3 separate regions of the Homo sapiens genome follow, and all the other regions are linked to region 3. Evidence: promoter capture Hi-C in human tissues and cell types (Jung and others, 2019). All regions are on one chromosome and are shown on one strand. The core of a region is centred on a gene start or on the middle of the fragment in contact, and the rest is flanking DNA. Distances in the headings are between cores, read along the strand shown.

Region 1 (4,678 bases), core at 1,953-4,452, 56 kb before region 3:
TGCCTTTATTTCTCAGGCCAGCTTTCCTTTCCTTTCTTTCTTCTTAACCATGCCATCCACATATAGTAGGAAAGATGGCCATTAGAAACTCATTTTACATCTTCTTTGCACTCTCAAGCCAATTTCATTATCAGATGAGAAAGTAATCTTTCCTTTCTCTCCAATAAAGATGTTCATTGTTTAACCTTTGTTCACATGTATATTGATAAAACATTTATTTTGGCCATGAAGCTGATATGCACTGACTCAAGTGGTAATGGGGATAAGCCAGCCCTACTCCAATCACATGAGCTGACATGGACGAAGTCATAGATTTCCAATAAGAGAGAGAAAAAATAATCATGGAAACTGCAGTAGATGGTCACTTCATGAAAAGGAGATCAGATCTCTTTGTATTGAAATGGAGAGGTAGAGATGAGTATTAAGCAAGAAATGCAATTTTTGCAATCATGTTTTCAAGTTCACTTCATTGGTTTCAGTCTGGGAAATAGATCTCCAAGGAAGTATATCTTCTAAGGTGTGGACCACTGTAAAGCATATTTCCATCACTGCCAAACATGTAGAAGGTAGCAAAACCCCCTGCTTCCCTAAATATTTCATTCCTAATACCAAAAATATTTTCAAGTAAGATTCAAGATTGTTGTCTGGCTACTTAGTCCACAGGAGAAAATTTTACTTGGGACCTAAAGGCTGTAGAAATGCACACTGGGATGACAGATGAGTTAGATTTCTTTTTTCATTTTAAATTATGAGAATTTACCTGAGGAAAAGTTTCATTATTACAAATAGTGTGGAAACAGCCTCCAGGAAAGAACATAAACAAGAACTAAGGGCCTTAAATCCAAAAGATAGGGGAAATACTCACACTTACACTGCCTCTAACTAGTTAGGAATCTTAGGTATCTTAATCAATTTTCTGTTGCTTACAAAACAATACCTAAAACTGAGTAATTTATAAAGAAAGACATTTATTTATTACGATTATGGAAGCTTAGAAGTCCAAGGTTAGAGGGCTGCATCTGGTGAGAGCTTTCTTGCTGGTGAGGACTCTCTGTAGAGTCTCGAGGCAGTGCAGGTTATCACACGATGAGGCGGCCAAGTGCTAATGTGCTAGCTCAGGTCTCTCTTCCTCTTCTTATAAAGAAACCAGCCCCACTTCCCTGGTAACCAATTAATCAATTAATGAATTAATCCATTCATGAGAGCTCTGCCAATCACCTCTTAAAAGCCCTACCCTTGAATAATGCCTCGTGAGGGATTAAATTTCAAAATGTGTTTTGGGGAACACAAATATTTAAACCATAGTATCTGCCTCTGGCCCTCCCCACAAAAACTCTTGTTTTTCTTACCTACAAATCCCATCACATAGCTTCAGAATCTTAACTTTTTCCAGCACCAACTCAAAAGTTCAAAGTTAAGAGTGTCACCTATGAAAATGTGAAATCAAAACAAGTTATCTGCTTCCAAAGGTACAACGGTTAGAAAAGCATAGGGTACACATTCCCATTTGAAAAGGGAGAAATAGTAGTCAAGAAGAAAGGAGTAACAAACTCCAAGCAAGTATGAAGCCCAACTTATCAGGCATTGAGTCTTAAAGCTCCAGAATATTCTCCCTTGACTCCACATCCAATAATTCTTTTGTACACTGGTGTAGGGGTTGGGCCCTGAGACCTCAGGCAACCCTGCAACTATGGCTTTGTTGGGCTTGGTTCACCCAGCTCTCCCAGGCTGTCATTGCACTCTGATAGTTCTGAAGTTCTGGGGGCTCAGCGGCAGTCCTGCTTCCACAGCTCCCCCAGGCATTACCCAATGGGGACCGGGTGGTGATCTTGCTCTCATGGTTTCAGTAAACATTGCCCTGGTGGGGACTCTTTTTAGCAGTTGCAACCCCACATTTCCACTGGGCATTGCTCTAGTGAGGGCTGTCTGCAGTGGCTCCGCCCCATGACGAGTTTCTGTCTGAGCTCTCAGGCTTTTGACAACATCATTTGAAATCTGGTTGGAGGCTTCCAAGCTTTTATAGCTCTTACTTTCTGTAAGCTTGAAGAATCAGCACCACATGGACAAATTAAGGTTTCTGACTTGTACTGTCTGGAGCTGCTGCATGAACCACACTTGGGGCCACTAGGGTCTTGGCTAGTGTGGCCCCAAAGTGCTGTGCCCAGATGTAGGGAAGAGAGTCCCGAAGGAGTCCTTGGTAGCAAGCTCATAAAGAGCACTCTGGGCCTGTCGCCTGAAATCATTCTGCACTCCTAGGCTTCTGTGCCTGTAATGGAAGGAAAAGCCTCAAAGATCTCTGAAATGCTTTCAGGGCCTTTTTTTCCCCACTGTCTTGAAAGTTAGCACCTGGCTCCCTTCTATTAGTGCTAATATCTTTAGCAAAACTACACCTTTGATTTATACTTCTGAGCACATTTTTTGACTCTCTGTGTGGCCAGGCTGAGAATTTTCCAAATGTTTCTACTCTGCTTCCTTTTTAATTATAAATTCTGTATTTACATTATTTCTTTGCTCCCCAAATCTTAGTTTAAATAGCTGAAAGTAATCATGCACCTCTTTCTATATTTTGCTTAGAAATTTCTTCTGCCAGATACCCTAGACCATCACTCTCAAATTAAGCCTTCTACAAAGCCCTCAAGCATGGACACAGTTCAGTCAAGTTATTTGCCAATTTGTAACAAAGATGGGCTTTATTCCAGTTCCCAATACCTTTTTCCTCAGCTCTATCTAAAACTTGATCAGAATGGACTTTACTCCCTGTATTTCTATCAGCTTTCTGGTTCTGAAACTTTAACCAATTTGTAAGGATTCTGAAATTTCCCTAGTCTTCTTGTATTCTAACATCTAACCAGAATCTAAGCTTTTTCTAGTCTGCTCCTCCAATTTTTTTCAGCAGCTGCCCAATGCCCCATTCGCAAACCAATTCCACATTTTTACATAACTGTTAACAGCAACACCTCACTTCTCAGTACCAATTTTCTGTCTTAGTCTGTTTTCTGTTGCTTATAATAGAATACCTAAAATGGCAATTTACAAAGAAAATGAACTTATTTCTTACAGTTACAGAGGCTGGGAAGTTCAGGGTTTAAGAACTCCATCTGGTGAGAGCATTGTTGTTTTTTTTTTTTTCTTTTTCTTAAAGACAAAGCCTGGCTCTGTTGCCCAGGCTGGAGTGCAGTACTACGAACACAGCTCTCTGCAGACTTGACCTCCTGGACTCAAGTGATTCTCCTGACTCAGCTTCCCAAGTAGCTGGGACTACAGGCATGAGCCACCATGCCTGGCTAGTTTTTATTTATTTATTTATTTTTGTAGAGACAGGGTCTCACTATGTTCCCCAGGCTGGTCTCAAATTCCTTGGTTCAAACGATCCTCCCACCTTGGCACCCCAAAGTGCTGGAATTATAGGCGCCAGGCAACGCACCTGGTCTCTATTTATTTATTTATTCATTTTGAGACGGAATCTCACTCTATCACCCAGGCTGGAGTACAGTAGCGCAGTGATGCGATCTCGGCTCACTGCAACCTCCGCCTACCTGGTTCAAATGATTCCCCTGCCTCGGCCTCCTGAGTACCTGGGATTAGAGGCGCCTGCCACCACGCCCGGCTAATTTTTTGTATTTTTAGTAGAGATGGGGTTTCACCGTATTAGCCAGGATGGTCTCAATCTCCTGACCCCATGATCCGCCTGCTTCAGCCTCCCAAAGTGCTGGGATTACAGGCGTGAGCCACCGCACCTGGCCTTTTCTTTATTTTTATTTTTTTATTTTTATTTTTCTTGAGACAGAGTCTCGATCTTTCACCCGGGCCGGAGTGCAGTGGTGCTATCTCGGCTCACTGCAAGCTCTGCCTCCCAGGTTCACGCCATTCTCCTGCCTCAGCCTCCCGAGTAGCTGGGACTACAGGCACCCACCACCGCGCCCGGCTAATTTTTTGTATTTTTAGTAGAGACGGGGTTTCACTGTGTTAGCCAGGATGGTCTCGATCTCCTGACCTCGTGATCCGCCCACCTGGGCCTCCCAAAGTGCTGGGATTACAGGAGTGAGCCACCGCGCCTGGCCTTTTTCTATTTTTTAAAAAGAATCAGGATCTTGCTGTGTTAAGTGGCATAATCATTCGTGTCATCATAGGTCAGTGCAGCTTTGACCACATAGGTTCAAGTGATCCTTCCACCTCAGCCTCCTGAGTAATTGGGGCTATAAGAATACACAACCAGCATGTCCAACTTTTTTATTTATTTTTTTATTTTTATTTTTTTGTAGAGACCGTAGTCTCAGTATGTTGACCAAACTTGTTTTGAACTCATGGCCTCAAGTGATCTTCTCACCTCAGCCTCCCAAACTACTAGAATTACAGTTGTGAGCCACTGCTGCCAGCGAGAGCCTTCTTGCTAATGGAGACCCTCTGAAGACTGCTGATGTGTCATAGGATATCACATGCGGAGGGAGCTGAGCATGTTAATGTGCTGGCTCAAGTCTCCCTTTCTCTTCTTAATTCATGAGCCATTAATTCATTAATACATAAATGGAGTAATCCATTCATGAACTCTCTCCCTCACAATTCAATCACCTATTAAAAGCCCCATCTCTCAACACTGGCACATGGGGATTAAGTTTTAATAGGAGTTTTGGAGACACATTCAAACCATAGCATCAGGTAAGATACTTAAATCCCCTAA
Region 2 (4,308 bases), core at 1,140-3,639, 40 kb before region 3:
TTTCAGGTTCTCTATTCTGTTCCATTGGTCTATGTATCTGTTTTTTGTGATCTTTTGAATTTTTTTCAAATACATTTATTATTGATATCATACTTATTATTTCTTTTTTCTACTAATTTTGGATTTGCTTTGCTCCTGCTTTTCTAGTTACATCCAATGCTATTATTGATAAGGAGGGACTTATTCCTGCCATTGTATTATCTGTTTTCTGGTTTTGTCTTCCTTTCTTCTTTCCTTCCTGTCTTTCTTTTAGTGAAGCTAATTGTCTCTGGCGGTATGATTAAATTCGTTGCTTTTTATTTTTGTGTATCTTTAGAGTGTTTATCAACTTGAAGTTACCACAAGGTTTGCAAATACTATCTTATAATCCATTATTTTAAATTGATGACAACTTAACACTAATTGCATAAACAAACACACAAAAACTAATATAAAATCTACACTTTCACTTCATCCTCTCACTTTTTAATTTTTGTTGTTTCTATTTCGTTTTATTGTACTACGTCTTGAAAATTATAAATATTATTTTTGGTTCATTGTTTAGTATTTCTACTGAAAGTATTAATAAGAGTAGTTTACACACCACAATTACTGTGTTACAATATTCTGTGTTTTTTTGTATACTTACTATTACCAGTGAGATTTGTACCTTTGCATGATGTCTTCTTGCTCATTAAAATCTTTTTCTTTCAGTTTGAAGAACTTCCTTTAACCCTTCTTGTAGGACAGGTCTAATGTCAATGAAATCCTTCAGCTTCTGTTTGTCTGGGAAGGTCTTTATTTCTTCTTCATGTTTGAAGGATGTTTTCACTGGATATACTATTCTATGGTAAAAGTTTTTTTATTTAGCATTTTAAATACCTCACGCCACTCTCTCCTGGCCTGTAAGGTTTCCACTGAAAAGTTTGCTAACAGATATATTGGAGCTCCATTGTGTGTTACTCGTTTCTTTTCTCTTGCTTCTTTTAGGATCCTTTATTATTGACCTTTGAGATTTTGCTTATTAGATACTCTGAAGTATGCTTCTTTGGGTTAAATCTACTTTGTGTTCTATAACCTCTTGTCCTAGACTGTTAATATCTTTCTTTACATTTGGGAAGCTTGCTGTTGTTATCCCTTTGAATAAACTTTCTACCCCATCTCTTTCTCTAAATCCTCTTTATGGCCAAAATCTCTTAGAGTTGCCCTGTCGAGGCTATTTTCTAAATCTTGTAGATGTGTTTCATTGTTTTTATTTTTTCAAATTATTTTGTCTCCTTTTACTGTGTATTTTTAAATAGCTTGTCTTCAAGTTCATTGTTTCTTCTGCTTGATAAATTCTGCTATTAAGAGACTCTGGTGCATTTTTCGGTATGTCCATTGCATTTATAAACTATAGAATATCTACTTAATTCTTTTTTATTATTTCAATTTCTTTTTAAAGTTTATTTGATAGGATTTTAAATTTCTTCTCTGTTATCTTGAATTTCATGGAGTTTCCTCAACATAGCTATTTTGAACTCTCTGTTTGAAAGGTCACATATCCTTGTTTCTCCAGGATTGGTCTATACTGCCTTATTCAGGTCATTTGTCATGGTCATGTTTTTCTTGACTTGATGCTTGCTTATAGATGTTTATCTACTTCTGGACATTGGAGAGTATTTATTGTAGTCTTTGCAGTCTGAGCTTGTATGTGTCAGTTCTTCTTGAGGAGGCATTCTAGGCATTCAACGGCTATTCAACCCAATAGCATTGTTGTTTTTGCAGACTCATAGAGGCACTCCCTTGGTGATCTTAGATAAGATCTAGAGGAATTCCCTGGATTACCCAACAGAGACTCTTGTTCTTTCCTCTTTCTCCCAAGCAAATATAATCTCGCTCTCTGTGCTGAGCAACCTGGAACTAGGGGTGTGGTGATGCAAACATCCCTGTGGCTACCACAGCTGGGACTGTGCTGGATGAGACCTGGAGCCAGCACAAGGGTCTCACTTAAGGCTCACTGCAACCAATACTTGGCTACTGCCTATGTTCACTCAAGGCCATAGGGCACTGCAATCAGCAGGTGATGAAGCCAGCCAGGTTTGTATCCTCTTCAGGGCAGCAAGTTGCCCCAGGCCATGGGTAGGTCCAGAGATACTCCTGGGATCCAGGGATTACAGTCAAAAACCTTAGAAATTTGCCTTATGTTCTATTCTACTGTGGGTAACCTGGCACTCAAACCACAATACAAAGTTATTCCCACTCTTCTCTCCTTTTCCACAGGCAGAGGAGCCTCTCCCTATGGGTATCATCACCACTGGCTCATAGGCATTCTGCCAGACCACCCCTGATGTTCACTTAAAGCCCAAGGGCTCTTTAGTCAGCTTGTGATGAATACTGCCAGGCCTGGGACTCAACCTTCAGGGAAATGACATCCCCTCTGGCCCAGAGCAGCCTAGAAATGTTGTTAAAGATCCAAGTCCTACACTCAGGGTCCCCAAGAGCTGGCTTGTTGCTCTACTCCACTGTGGTCAAGCTGGTAGCTAAGGTGAAGGACAAAGTTCCCTTTACTTTTAATTTTTCCTCTGCTTTTCTAAAACAGAAGGAGTCTTTCACTGTAACCACCACAGCAACAGTGTTGGAGTCACACCTGATGTCAGCATGTCTCAGAGCCCAAAGCCCATGGCATACCCATGGGTTCTACCTGGGTGTTGTTGCTGGTTATTCTGGGTCCAAGCGCTCTTTAGTCAGTGAGAGATGAGTCCTTCTAGACTTTCTTTCAAGGCAGCAGGTTCTCTTTTGGCCCAGGGTATCTAGAAATGTCATCCATGAGCTGGGGCTTAGAATGGGGACCTCACAACTCTACCCAGTGCCGTATCCTACTGTGGCTGAGCTGGTATAGTTCTCTTTACTCTTTGATCTCCTCTCCTTAAGCAGAAGAAAGGGGTTACTTTCATTGCTGCAAACTGTGCAGCCTGGGGTTTGGGTAGGGGTGGCACAAGCCCTTCCTTAGCTGCTCTGGCTCGTGTCTCCTTAGGTCATGTGCCACACTAGTCCCCTGTCTCTGAGCCCAGTTCTGCCCTAGGACTTGCTTAAAAATTGCTATGCTTGTGTTTTAAAGTTTACCTAGGATCCCAGAGCACTTTGGTCTGTGGTAGCAAGGCTTGCTGAGAAACCCAATTTTCAACTACTAGGAGGGGTGATTCCCCTCTGGCTAGGGCTTATTCAAATACTCCTTTCACACATGGGTATTGGCTGAGCCCTACACGACTTTGCTCTCTGCTACGACAAGGCAGTGCCAAATTCAGTACAAAGTCCTCCAGTCACTGTGTTGCCCCTCTCCAAAGTGCAGAGAATTTCCACACCACAAGGCTACTGCCAGGGAATAAGGGAGGCATGACATTGGTGATTCAAGTCTGTCTCTCTGACCCTATTCAATTCCTCTGTTAACAATATGAAGATAAAACCAGATACTGTGATTACTCACCTAATTTTTGGTTCTTGTGGTATTTTTTGAGTGCAGATAGTTGTTAAAATTTGATATTCCTGTGGGGGTGGCGGGGAACAAATGGCGTAGTCTTCTATTCTGCATTTTGCCCCACCCTTCTCATTTTTATTTTAATTTATGATATTGCTTTAGAAACCTTGGTGTTTCATAAATATCTTATTAAGACTTTCACTGTTCTACTCTTCTCATTTGCAAGATATTGAGGTAAACTTTATTTCCAATGCTAATGACTGACATGTAAATTGGGTTGACATTTTGGATAGAAGGAACCTAGATTTATCTCAAATATACTCGTTGTGATTAGCAATTTTCCATAACAGGGACAGCCTCAAAACAACAGCAACAAAAAGCTTATTGCATACTGTCAAAGCTCTAAGGGGAAAAGAACCTTGAGAAAGTCTCATTAAATTCATTCCACTGGTTTTAAGATAATAAATAAAAAATAATGAGAAGGAGCCTTTTCAAATAACTTGTAGTTATTATAGGATTATTCAGCAAAATAACATGGTACCCAATCTAAATGTACCTCATCTATCTAGGCTAAACTTTCCTATTGACATATATACACACATACATACAGACACACAGACACACATGCACACACACACACACACACACACACACACACATTCCCTTGGGAAAGGGGTAAAAAACTACACATGCTATCTTAAAATGTAGGTGATCCATGTTTTTCTATTTGTCCATTTGCAGAGAAGGGTGCTCTCTTTCTATCTGGTGGCTACCTAGACTGTTCATTGTGGTTATTTTGGTTGAATTAGCTCTCATCAGACCAATATGGTATCAATTCTTTTTAGTATGAGAGATTTTCACTTTTTGTGATT
Region 3 (5,008 bases), core at 1,460-3,959:
TCCAGAGCATCACTTTTTACTGGAATTCTAAGTAGTTCTTTACTCAGAATTCAAGCAGCAAACATTTAGGGACTCAGTGGTTCACTCAATTGTAGGAAATTGATTGTGAAATGATATTTGCCATTGCCACAAACTCATTAATAATTTTCATCCCAATTATGGAACAGTGGTAAAAGAAATATACATATATTAGAGAAAGTAAAACAAAAACAGAAGAGCAACAAGGTACCGATATTTTGTAACTTATAACACTATCATCCCTTTGTATGACAATCCCAAATTTCTCAGTCAAACACTGAATTATACAAAGTATAAATTAATTAAACTTAAATAAGATAAAAACAGAACAATGGTTATAAGTGAATCAGCATTCTTTAACATGTAATGAGAACAGTGAGATTTAGAGTTCAATTTTATCTATAACTGTCTCTTCCTCTAGCACATGGCATGGCAAATGATAATCAAACTGAAATTGTCATTATTTTCTTGAATGATGGCACATTAAATTACTGACATTAGGTAATATCAATTATGCATAAGGCTTATCCTATTTTATATGTAAGCATCTTTCTTGAACAAATGGTTAGTAACACTATGGAAGTAAAAGCAGTATTACTACATCTATACATAGTGAATCCATAGAGTCAATGCTTAATATCATCAAAGTGAAAATAACTAATGTAATATTATATACATTTAGTTCCATTGCAATATGCTTTTATCCTGAATAGTAAATAATAAAGTTATAAGTTCCAGCCCAGAAAGGGTTAAAACTTTTCTAAATAACCACAAGAAATCCAGTCTTTTGTTACTTCCCTTCCCCATCCCCCCAAATCTTCTGCCAATCTACTTCACAATTATAAAACTGAACTCAGAGAATGTAAGGTTAAGAAAAGACAAATGAAATAGAAGATAAAAAGGCCAATAAAATCGCAATAAAAATCCTGTATTTTAATGTACAGAAACTGAATCATGTAAAGATGAAATAAACCTTTGACTTCTCCAGGTGGAAAAAAGAAACAGTGACTACTACAGTATAAAGCAAGAGCTAAAGATAATCAGCTAAACTTGGTATCAGCTTTTCAGTTTTTCCTTCTATTCAAGTCTTTGTGAAAAAAAAATGCACCCACATTCCTGGACCATAATAACCCAAGGCCAGGGAGCAAAAGCAAAGTCATGAACTGAGAGAGTTCTTTAGCCAATGTAAAAACAATAAAAACAGTAGAAAATCATTTTTTAAAAGTAGACTGATAGTCCATGCTAGAACATATTTTCACTGGCACAGTCTCTAAAAATTCCTCCATATTAGAAAATCATTCAGGTTTCAAATGAAGAATTGGGAATAAATGTCATACCAAAATAAACCCAATAACCCAAATGGAAGGCTGGGAAAGAAATTCATTTATGAACATAATATCACAAATTGTCCCTATTGAATAGTTATGTCAAATGGCAAACATTTTCTATAACGTGGAAACACTTATCTACTCCCTATGTATTCTCTACTGATAAGGTCTTACAATCTTGAAAGTCAAGATCATAGTTATTTTACTCAGCTTAATAACAATTATCACACATCTGTAGATATCACTCCTCTTCACAACCTTCTATGAAATTTCATGATTTAAAAAATACGTGTAAGTAAAATTCTGACCTTTTTCCTTTGGAATATACTGAGATCTAAAAATAGTACTTTTTTACTCTATGAAGTACGTCTAATTTTATGTACTGAAACCAAAAACTTGGTGTGAGAAAAGGAAAACTGAACGGGAAAATTGGAGCCCTAATTCAAGTTTCCAGCAGCTTTTAGCTAATTGTGCAACCTATAATACTTCCCTCATCTCTCTGGGCTTTGGTTAGCTCAGCAGTGAAATGAAATGGGCTGAGCCAGTTCATTTTGAAACTCTCTTTAACCCTGCTACCATATGATTCTGTCTTTCACTAGCAACATATTTCAAGGATACAAGAAAAACATAGCAGAGAAAAACACCCATATGGTACGCCCTGTAATAAAATATACATTGCCAAACCCCAATAGACAAGTTGCTTTTTTTAACCAAGATCAAACCCCAATGTAACCAGAGATATATTTATCTTCTCCTAATAAAATATAGATTTACCTACAAATAAGAATCACCTACAAAATAGATGAAACCAACATGGGAAAAACAGACCCCTTTTTCTTTACTCAGTACATGCTGCAATTTACAGAAGTACCTGAAAATTTAAGAACTTCCTGAAGGTAAATTCTCCCTAACAGAAGACAGTTTCAGGGAGAGAGATACCAAGGAAGGGAGAGAAGCTGCAGAAATAAGCCACAATTGCCTGACTGCCATTCTCATTTTCCTTTTAAATTAACTACCTAGGAAATCTGTATTCAACAACCGGGCAAAAAATAAATGAATAAACAGTCCACCCCAGAGTATTCAAGGAATAACCGCAGTCATAAGTTCAGTAACTTGCTTACCAAATTCTTCCCGGCTGGTGGTGATCGGAGCCATTTTTTACTGCGTGTTCTGTCCGAGGTGCTGAAGGGAAAACTGCCTGGCTGGATTCACTTGCCTGGATCTCAAGCGCCGGCTTTCGGAGCGCTGAAAACAACAGCGCAGAGCCCAGGGCACCAGCTCCTGGAACAGGGAGGAGGCAAAGAGGGAGGTCCACTCGCCCTCGCACAGTGATTTGCCACCTCGGTTCCTGTTTTGGCTCTTCTGAGAAGCTCGTCTCCGAGACTCCAGACGTGGCTGGAACCCGAATTGACGCAATCCTGACGCTACAGGGCTGAAATCAGCACCTGCCCCCCTCCCCTCCTCCCTTCAAGCTTTCCTTCTTGCTTCCTCCCTCCTCTCTTGAGGATTCAACACATGCTCATCAATTATTTTAACTGTTGGACCACTAGAGATTAGCTTTGCTGTTTTGTGGGGGCTCAGAGGCTCACCGAGATAAGCCCCGAAACTGATCCCTGTCAGTTCCTAATATAAAATCTCCTGATCACCTAGATGAATAAAAATATGTTTCTGAGTTTTCAGAATAACGTAACTTACAGAGGAGAAGTTTCTGCTTCAAATTACTCTTTTTAACATGCAAAAACATGTTTTCTTGCTTTTTAATTTTTTTCTTTGACATGTTATACCTATGATACTTATTACATTTAGAAAAGATTCACTACAAATTGATGCATTTGATATAAGATAGTTTTCCCAGTATAATCCTTTATGTTCTAATAAATTATTAGTCTAAATATTTTGCTGGAACAGTTGATCTTTCCTGGTCTCTCAGCTCTCTTCCCTTTAATATCTGACATTTGACCAGTTAAAGCACTTAGGAACAGATGGGGATAATTCCTTGGATATTCAGAGTCACTCTCAGTTATGACTTTTGCAAATAATAAGGCGCTTCTGAAATGACATTTATGGTTAAAAGGCCTGACTTCTAGTACGTTTGTACAAAATAGTTTCCAAAATCAGGCCAACATCTAAAGTAACATTGGTAACATTGGTTATTTCAAAGGAAAGCATTCCTTTTTCTAAACTGATGATATTCTCGGAGGTGAAAAACTGTGAAAAATATGGTGTCGGATTCTGATTCATTGGAATCTGAAGAGTGTGCCTTTCTAAAACAAATGCTTAGCAATTTTTCAAAGGAAAGAAGTCAAGCTGTAACTCCAACTGTCAATTATTGCTCTGCAAAGAATTTCTTTGCTCTGGAGTTAATAAGGAAATGGCATTCAGTGTGTGCTGGGATGTGGGAGAAGGGATACAGGGTGAGTCTCAGAAAGCTACTGTGCAAGTGACAGGTCCCTGCACATTGGCTAGCAGCAGCCCAGAGCATCAGGGCTCTGTCTGGGGAGAAATTGGCTTCAGTTCTTTGCATCATGGAAAATTTTATAAACCAGTCTTTTTTCTTTGCTATTCTATTTGCTCCCACATACTTGGCATTGGAGTGTTCCTCTAACAGATTTTTTTAAACTTTATATCTTCATGCTTTGAAAACACACAAACTAATTTGCTGTATTTAATTTTTCTGCTGGCAGAGTCTGTGGTTGTGTCTTTATCATTTCACTTTATTCAGATTACCTATTTCCTTAATTATGCATGCATGCACCCTGTAGGGTTGTCCCTAGAAACAAATATCCATTAGGTTAAAGAATAAGTGGCATTTATTTGTGATGCATATCATAGGTGGACCAAATACATGGTGTGATGTTTACTAAAGTATATATTTTCTAGCTAAGTTATTGCTAACATATGTTTAAGCTCATTTGTTGTAAACATAAATACCTTATGTGTTTGTTCTATAAATTAGTATCTCATTAATTTTACCTTCAGATGGTATAATGTTGTTATCTGTAAACTGTACAGATTGTTTAAACTCTATTTCTACGGAACCCACCCCATCCTTTGCTGTCTGACATCTGAGGAAACATCGTGATAAGATTACCTCTTGCCCAGAGCTAATGCTATTGTGGACTAAGTAACTATTTCATTGCTTGCTTTATAAGCAAACTGAAAAGAACTGTTATTAATTAAAATGCCTGAAGTTTCCCTCATTTTCATTTGATGAATAACATTTTAGGTATTATTCAATCTCTTTAGACAAGCTTCTAGCAACACCAGATGAGGAGTGGGCAGTAGACAGACCCCACACAGAGAAAAACCTGTACGTTTTTATGATTGAGATTCACACCCTACCACATTACTGAATTATTCTTTTTAGATCCATCAAACAAGTAACCAATTTACTGACGTGCAAAATACCGCTCTAGCAGGGGAGACTTGGGAGGAGGAGTTGTTGCTAGGTAACCACTTTTTCACCACCCAAAACACACAGCCTCAAACAAGTTCTTGCTTTGGCAAACACAGACCATTCTGTGCAGGCGGCAGTATTTACTTCAGAATGATTTTTTCACTGTTAAAATGGTTCAACTTTCACATTACTTTCTTTTCCAATTGCAAATGTCTATACATAATTTGAGAAACAATTAATAGAACACTTGAATTTAGTTTTAAGA

Evidence for each region. Contacts are between HindIII fragments. The study calls those that stand out against the background at their distance.
Region 1: a fragment that was not itself captured here is called in contact with the fragment with the promoter of SYT4 in region 3 in 2 of the 25 tissues and cell types used here (aorta and spleen).
Region 2: a fragment that was not itself captured here is called in contact with the fragment with the promoter of SYT4 in region 3 in 2 of the 25 tissues and cell types used here (dorsolateral prefrontal cortex and spleen).

The regions. Positions count from the first base shown.
Region 1 is chr18:43,218,201-43,222,878 of GRCh38, forward strand. No RefSeq gene overlaps it. Among named protein-coding and RNA genes, the nearest start is that of SYT4, 57 kb to the right of the region's middle. The HindIII fragment of the contact is 3,401 bases long and covers 1,503-4,678 here.
Region 2 is chr18:43,235,355-43,239,662 of GRCh38, forward strand. No RefSeq gene overlaps it. Among named protein-coding and RNA genes, the nearest start is that of SYT4, 40 kb to the right of the region's middle. The HindIII fragment of the contact is 4,002 bases long and covers 389-4,308 here.
Region 3 is chr18:43,274,781-43,279,788 of GRCh38, forward strand. SYT4 (synaptotagmin 4) reads right to left here and starts at 2,710. Exons shown (of 4, transcript NM_020783.4): 1 at 2,468-2,710. The coding sequence starts at 2,501. The HindIII fragment of the contact is 4,332 bases long and covers 766-5,008 here.